Regions from separate parts of the Homo sapiens genome. Here region 1 is linked to region 2. The links are contacts of gene promoters, found by promoter capture Hi-C in human tissues and cell types (Jung and others, 2019). All regions are on one chromosome and are shown on one strand. Each heading gives the region's core, a stretch centred on a gene start or on the middle of the fragment in contact. The rest is flanking DNA. Distances are from core to core; before and after follow the strand shown.

Evidence for each region. Contacts are between HindIII fragments. The study calls those that stand out against the background at their distance.
Region 1: a contact is called between a fragment that was not itself captured here and the fragment with the promoter of ASCL4 in region 2, in 2 of the 25 tissues and cell types used here (H1 embryonic stem cells and pancreas).

The regions. Positions count from the first base shown.
Region 1 is chr12:107,840,131-107,844,547 of GRCh38, forward strand. No RefSeq gene overlaps it. Among named protein-coding and RNA genes, the nearest start is that of ASCL4, 68 kb to the left of the region's middle. The HindIII fragment of the contact is 4,762 bases long and covers 1-4,152 here.
Region 2 is chr12:107,773,076-107,776,926 of GRCh38, forward strand. It overlaps ASCL4 (achaete-scute family bHLH transcription factor 4), which reads left to right and starts at 1,629. Exons shown (of 1, transcript NM_203436.3): 1 at 1,629-3,569. The coding sequence starts at 2,144. The coding sequence ends at 2,662. The HindIII fragment of the contact is 5,777 bases long and covers 1-2,548 here.

The DNA.
Region 1 (4,417 bases), core at 522-3,021, 67 kb after region 2:
TCTAATGTTTAACTTGCAAACAAAATTAAATTTGATAAACACGTCCTTCTCCACTGGATCATTCCCATCAGCCTACAAACATGCTCTAAAGGCTTCTATTTTAAAATTACAAACAGAAAATTCCCTTGAATCCCTCATTTTTCTTTGGCTGTCCCTCAATGTTGCCTTTCCCTGTAAAAGTTCTCTCAAAAGTTGTGAAAACTAAGTCATGCTCTGTGACTCACCCAGGGTTTCACGGTGACATTTATTGAAACTGCTCCTTGTCAAAGTCACTAGTCCTCATCTTAATTGATCTTTCAGCAACATTGATACAGCTGAGTATTCTCCCTAGCTTTGGCTGACTACACTATTCTACTTCCAGAAAAAGGAATCACTGCTAACACTCCTTCAGAGGGAAATACAGAACTTACAGATGTCACCTTCCTTTCTCATCTATTTCACTTAAACTGCTGTCATCCTTCAGTTGTAGCAGACCACCACTTAGTAAACTGGCTTTCTCAAATACTGGTGTAATCTCAGATTCTTTTGAGGTTCAGTTTCTATTTTCATTTCCCTTTACTTCCTTCATATACAAAGGCAGGACTACCACTTTTAAAAACTCCTTAAAAAGCATAAAATAAAGAAGCATCACACAATCCATTGTGCCTTACGTGAAGTAGAATGTGGTCTATTCAAAGGGTCCAGGGCAGCTCTAGGCATGATTGGCACTTAACAAAAAGTTAGTTCTTTTTTTTTTTTTTTTTTTTTTTAGACAGAACCTTGCCCTGTCACCCAGGCTGGAGTGCAATGGCACGATATTGACTCACTGCAACCTCCGCCTCCAGGTTCAAGAGATTCTCCTGCCTCAGCCTCCCGAGTAGCTGGGACTACAGGCAAGCGCCACCACGCCTGGCTAATTTTTTGTATCTTTAGTAGAGATGGGGTTTCACCATGTTGGCCAGGCTGGTCTCGAACACCTGACCTCGAACTCCTGACCTCATGATCCACCCACCTTGGCCTCCCAAAGTGCTAGGATGACAGGCGTGAGCCACCACGCCTGGCCAGTTAGTTCTTAAAATACTATGAGGAAAGAGGGCTAAAATAACAACAACAAATTTTTAAAAACAACTTCTTACTTTGATTGCTAAAAAAACTATAAGCCAAAGGAAACTTGGGATTCAAATGAGCAAGTATGACTCATTTTATTCAATACTTAGATTTATACAATATATGTAAATCACATACTTGCAATGATTTATATGAATATTTAAGACTAATACATTTTCAAAAGGGCAGTTAAGGTTGTCGTTTACTATTTTCTACCCAGAAATGCTTTTGTTTGAAAGGAGGGAAGGAAAGCTTCAGTGAAATGAAGTCCTAATACTCCAATTTTAAATCTCTCCGTTTGCTCAGACTGGGCTGGAAAACGTGATTTTTTCAGGATGGAAGAGTTCTGAGAGATAGTAGAATATTTCTGCTACCTAATAGATATTCAGGTAATGTTTGATGAATAAATTCTTTTAAGAATGGATAAATACAGTTGAGGAGTTCAATATTTTTTGAATAAAACTCCTATAAAGTAAACCAATACTTCTGCAAAAGTAATAATCATGTATATCTTCTATTTTTTATTTTCATAAGGACACAATGAAAATAAAATGATTACCCTATTAATTTTTTGCACATATGTAATGAACCTACATGTAATGAAAACACACATATATAATAAAATATATACATAATAAAATCTACAAGCACAGATAAAAAAAGTCCCTTTATTCTGAAGAGGTCAAAAGTTCACCGAAGACACCAATCTACACAAAAATAATAATAATAAACAGAAAATGATAAATTATTTTTAACTTTGAAGATTTATATTCTTCTCTTCCCAAGCATTATTCTATTAATAATAAACTTTCACTACAACTTTTATGCATACTCATTGCCAAAATCAAAGGTAAGAAAAAGGAAAAAACTTTATATATTGTACATATTTTTGGTAACATAAGATCACAACCTGTATGGATATATAATCAAACTGATTTTTTTCTCACTCAGTATACCAAAATACATCTTTGTACATCAACATTCTTCGGTATCTGTTGCCACCTTCAACAATCACTTATTCCATGCTATGAATGCACTGAAATTTATAAAATCCATTCTATGGGTTCTTCCTAAAATTAAGCAGTGCTGAGAAAACCAAATTGCATATATGTCTGTTTCCTAAAGCTATTTTAGTATAATGGAATTGAGGAGTAAAGAGCATATATTTTTTAAAAATACGGCACTTACCACCAAATTATCCATTTGAAAAGTCATCAGACTCTTTTTAACTTTAAGCAGCAGTATAAGCACCACTGCTCTTCATCATCACAAAATTGGGAATAGAAAACAGTATTTCGCTCCTCTTTACTTTAAATTCCTTCTCTTCCCAGGAAAGCTAAGCATGTTTTCTTTTGTATATAGATAACATGTTAAAACCTTGATATTTTATTAGGTTTATAAAAAATTAATAAACACATAAAGGGCTCACATTTTAAGAAAAATCGGTCTTCCTATCAAAGAACATGCAGCTCTCTTCCTACTTCAACATTTCCTTCTAAGTTCCCTCAGTAAAGAACATATTTACATAGATGTACATTGATATAAAATGGATATTGGATTTCATCCAAAGAATTTTTAGCCTACTAAAAATATTTTAAGAGTATTTATATTACGGGAACCATTTCTCTCATTATGCACCTTTTTGTCATGTGTATAACATCATGTTTTAAATGTATGCACTAAAAGTAAAATCCTGGACCTGCGCAGTGGCTCACGCCTGTAATCCCAGCAGTTTAGGAGGCCAAGGCGGGCAGATCACTTGAGGTCAGGAGTTCCAGACCAGCCTGGCTAAAATTGAAACCCCATCTCTACTAAAAATACAAAAATTAGCCGGGTTTGTTGGCCAGCGCCTGTAATCCCAACTACTCCGGAGACTGAGGCAAGAGAATCGCTTGAACCCCTGAGGCAGAGGTTGCAGTGAGCCGAGATGCGCCACTGCACTCCAGCCTGGGCGACAGTGAGACTCCGTCTCAAAATAATAATAATAATAAAATTCTTTATATACTTGTTAGTGAAATCACTAAAATTGTCTATAATGTGCTCTAGACGGGACAGTATGAGTAAGAGGATAGGAAACCAGCTAACGTTTTGTTTTGGTTTTGCTGCTCATGGAGATCCCCAGCGCCCCCTCCAAGGCGTCCCTGTCCCAGGGGCTGCGGGGCCTGCACGGAAGGACAGGGGCGCCTCCCAGACCCACCCTTCCCGCCGCCACCCTCGGCTGGGAGCTCCCATCTCCTGTTCCTGTTGTCCCCCTCCTTCAATGCAGGGCTCTTGAGCAGAAGGCACTGCTGCACTGTGGCCGTATCTCCCTCTCTGGCCGTCTTGTGGATCCTGCCGAGCTCTCAATCTCGGCGGTGCTACCAGGAATCCGAGTAGAAGTGGTCAGGGATGGAGCCCAGGGCCACCTCATCCTTCTTCCTCCTGGAGCCAAACAGCTTCTTCATCGCGGCAGCTTCGGAGAAGCCTCAGCTACCCTGCAGCTCCCCTTCGCCTTTTCGCGGAATCCGGAGTCCAGTCACAATTAGCTAAGCCCGGGGCACCAAAGCCTTTAGCAGCGAAACCGCCGCTTCCGACCTCTCGGACCTAGTGAGCCAGGCAGAGCCTTTAGGCCCACGCCTGGGCACCACAGCCAGCCCGAGGCCCAGGAAGCCGCTCCCAGGCTGCGCGCGGCTGGCGCTGGGCTTCCAGTGCCGGACTGCCAGAACAGGCTGGGAGCGCTGGGGTCTTGGCGCTCTGCAGCCACCAGAGATCTGGCCGAGTGGGTCTGGTTACCCCCACCCCTGTGCCGCCACAGCCCGGCAGATCGCCTAGCTTGGCTGCCCCAGCTGCCGCATCTGTCCCTCTGTCCGCGTCTCTGGGAGCCCGGCGGGGTGGGAGGTTGCTGGCTGTTGCTGTCCACTCCGGATCCTGAGGCCGCCCAGGGTACTCCTACCCCGCCTGCCTCGGTGCCCCTGACCTGCAGTCGTCACCTGCACTCCAGGCGGGCAACAACAGCGAGGACACCCTGCCCGGCCAGGCTCCCAGCATCAGAGACGCTGGGTGGACAACGTGGTGGCGGCCAATCCAGGTGGTCCGCCAGACCGCGGCAGAGACAACGCAGAGGCTGCGGGTTAGGACTGCCCAGCGCTAGCGGCCCCCAGCTCTGTGCGCCCGCTGAGGAGGAGACAGCCAGCAGCGTGGTCAGGCAGGCTCTCGCGCTGAGGAGGCAGTGCACTCAGGATACTGAGGCCGCCCAGAGCACGCCCCGCCAACCCACCTAGGCGCCTGAGCTGCAGCCTCTGCGCCGTCTCTGCCGCGGTCCGGCAGGCCGCCTGGATTGGCCGCCGCCGCT
Region 2 (3,851 bases), core at 379-2,878:
TAATAATTTTAATAGTTTCTTGAAGCAATTTATGCTCCCACCCTTTCCTCAAATCCTTGCCTCCCCTGAATCTTAGCAATCTTTTAAACTTTTGCCAATCTGAGAAGGAGAAATGGCATCTCAACTGTTCTTCCTTTTGCTCTCTTCCAATCTAGTCCTCAATCTGCAGACACAGTTATCTTTTTTGAAACACAAATCTTCAAATGTCACCTCCCTGCTTAAAATATTTCATTATCTTCCTGTCACTCTTAAAAGTTAAAATCTTTGACATGGCCAAAAAGCACCTTGTGGTATAACAGCCTACCTGCCTGAGTGGTGGACTTTTCTCCTAATAGAAAGGGCTTTCTCAATTCTACTGAGAAATTGTGATGATATATTAGGCTATTTGCCAGTACAAACCTCATCAGGAGCTACAACTTTTAATTTTTCTTTCTTCTTTTTAAAAGATGGGGGTCTTGCTATGTTGGCCAGGTTGGTCTTGAACTCTTGGCCTCAAGCAATCCACCCGCCTTGGCCTCCCAAAGTGCTGGGAATACAACCTTGAGCCACTGCACCCAGCCAAGCTACACCTTTAAAAATGTGACTAACTTATACCCGAAAGGAATAATTATTTCTATTTTATTTGCCTTGTTTTTTGAGTTGCTTCAGGCGGATCATTTAGAACAAACAGGGAAGAACAGGACTTGCCAAACTAAAAAGAAAAACATGTTAGGGCAGCACCTTGTCTGCTGAGGAATAGGCAAAAGCTCTCATCATAAATGTAGGGGGTTTTTGCTTCTCTTGTTTTTAAGTAGGACTTTTAAAGTAGAAGACACCTTTAATGTACTGGTTTGCAGAAGAGGAAATCTGATTTTCAGTGTGATAACATATTCTTTGACGTTAACCAGTACAGTTGGATTTTTAATGACACTTTAATCTTCAAAGGTTTACCAACACGGATGGATTAATTATTCATTTTGGAGGGGTTGTGTCTTAAAAAGACAAGTCTTCAAAGACATCATCCTTTCTCCTTGGAACTTGGAGTCTCCACCTTTCAAATGTTGCTTTCCTGCCCCCAAGAGAGAAAATAAATGACATTTTTTAAAGAAGAAGAATCCAATGGAAAAACACTCTTTGCGCTATGGAAAGATGATGTCCTTATATCCTGGGTGAGATTAGAAGAGGAGGCTGGGAAGCAGTATTTAAGCTGTGTTTACAGTAAGCACTGTGAGAAATAACCGGCTAAGCGCGTTTGTTATTGTTCAGTCTTTTGATGTGCTTTTAAAAAGTCGCATCTCCATAAAACACCCTCAACAACCATAAAACAACATATGTTGGAACATAATATGCAGACCCTTATATTCTTTGCTACAGTCTGTATTTTTCCTATACCCTTCAAACATGCCTCATTGAGTTTTTAAAAGATTCGGTTTGGAAGAAGAAAAACCTCAAGCCTCGCCCCGGGTCTTCCTTGACTTGACACATTTTATAACCGCAAGAGAGCAGTTTTTCCTTTGATGAGGCTAAGACCCCAGAAATGAAAGAGCAAGTTTAAGTTTGCAAACACTCTAAAAGCTCCTTCCATTAGACCTGGTCGCGGGAAACCACAAAGGACAGTCAAGTGATTTTCAAGGAGAAAGCCTCTGGTCCACTTTCCCTCCGCCGCCAGATCTGCAGGTTCCTGGGAGGAGCTCTTCTCAAATCCTGAAGATTGCTAGGCTCTTGGCGAACGACTCATCTCTTGAAGACCTAGAGTGGTGGATTACAGGCATTGAAAAGCTTTTGGTGGCTTTGGAAGATGACTCTGGTGTGAGCTCACCTTTCCAGGCTGGGGGACCAGGCAGAGGAACCCCCTTTGTTATCTTCTGAAAGAAGATCAGTGGGGAAGACGGGGTTTGAAGTGTGGATTAGGAGATCCTACGTCTTTGCCTACCACCTCTGCCTAAATCATAAAAAGATCGAGGAGTGCAATGAACTTCAGGAATCATGCACCGTTTCCCTGAAGCCTGTCCAGGAACCTAACTTCTGGACCCAGAAACTTCTGCAAAGACAGACCCACTGAGCCAGGCAGTCTGCACCAGCACCTCTGCTTCTAAGATTCTGTTTCGTCTTCTTCTATTGAGAGATTGACCTCTTGAGTGATTTGTGTGCTTTCCGGCAAATGATGGAGACGCGTAAACCGGCGGAACGGCTGGCCTTGCCATACTCGCTGCGCACCGCGCCCCTGGGCGTTCCGGGGACCCTGCCCGGACTCCCGCGGAGGGACCCCCTCAGGGTCGCCCTGCGTCTGGACGCCGCGTGCTGGGAGTGGGCGCGCAGCGGCTGCGCACGGGGATGGCAGTACTTGCCCGTGCCGCTGGACAGCGCCTTCGAGCCCGCCTTCCTCCGCAAGCGCAACGAGCGCGAGCGGCAGCGGGTGCGCTGCGTGAACGAGGGCTATGCGCGCCTCCGAGACCACCTGCCCCGGGAGCTGGCAGACAAGCGCCTCAGCAAAGTGGAGACGCTCCGCGCTGCCATCGACTACATCAAGCACCTGCAGGAGCTGCTGGAGCGCCAGGCCTGGGGGCTCGAGGGCGCGGCCGGCGCCGTCCCCCAGCGCAGGGCGGAATGCAACAGCGACGGGGAGTCCAAGGCCTCTTCGGCGCCTTCGCCCAGCAGCGAGCCCGAGGAGGGGGGCAGCTAGCGAGCGCCCGAACTGGCCAGGACCCCCGCGCCCGCCGCACAGCGCGCAGCCGGGCGCTCAACCTAAGGTCCTCTTCGAAGGTGGTTTGCATTCTTAATCTGGCATCTTCTCCAGGCCTAAATCTTAAGAAAAAGAAATGGGTGCTGGGGTTTGGGGGATGGGGGAGTTGTTTTGACATTTGGGAATTTCTCCCCTGCCCTTATTGGTTACGTGCCTGCAACTTATAGGTGCTTATTAAGGAGACTCTTTTCCTATACTTCTAAAATGCAAACTGTTTCAGATTCTGAGCACCTCATTGTAAATACGATTATTCTAAAAACTCAAAGGGCGAGAACAACTGGAATTTCCCACCTTCCGTGGTGTGGGTAAATGGTATACATAAACATTAAACCTTAACCAAAGAAGAACTTTACCGCCACCAAAACAGAAACAACCCCAAACAGCCAAAAACAGTCCTTAAAAATGAGAGGAACATTTTCTTGCATTCCTTCCTTCGGGAATTGTATTCAAAATGTAATGGAAAGTAATTGTTGACCTCCTGCTTTGGGTGAAGGAGACTGTAAGCTGGTACTTGAGAACGAATTTGCCAGCATGTGCTGTTGTTGACTGTGTGAATGATGGTGCCAGGGAATCCGTGGCTTGGTACACACTGTTTCATCCAGTGGCCACGTGGAAGCTTTGTAGCATTGAGCAGATAGTAAAATATCTTAGAATTAATGATCTCTTTGGAAGAGAGCCCAGATTTGTATGAAAACTTGTTTTTCCTCTCAATTGTTTTGTCCACTGTTTTCTTCATTTTCCTTTTCTCTGCATACCCCCCGCCCCCCAACGTGTAGCTCTCCATCTAAGTTTTGGATAAACTGAAGTGGCACTGTGACTTTAAAAATAAAAAAGAAATCTACTTGGAAGTCCTTTTTGCGGGTTGAGCCAGATGGGGGAAAGATATGGGACAAGACGGATGGATTGAAGTTGGTACATTCTCAAATATTTTTATCACCATTAGGGCTTCCAGGTACAGTATATGGAAATGATGTAGTGACTTTGGCCATGTTAAAAGCCTTTTTAAAATATTGAATTTGGGTCATTTTTTTTCTAAGAAACAATTTTGAGTTCAGTAGATAAGTTAAATGCCTGCTGATGTATGAAGATCAACTTCCCTAAGATTGTTTTCTAATATGCCGAATTATCC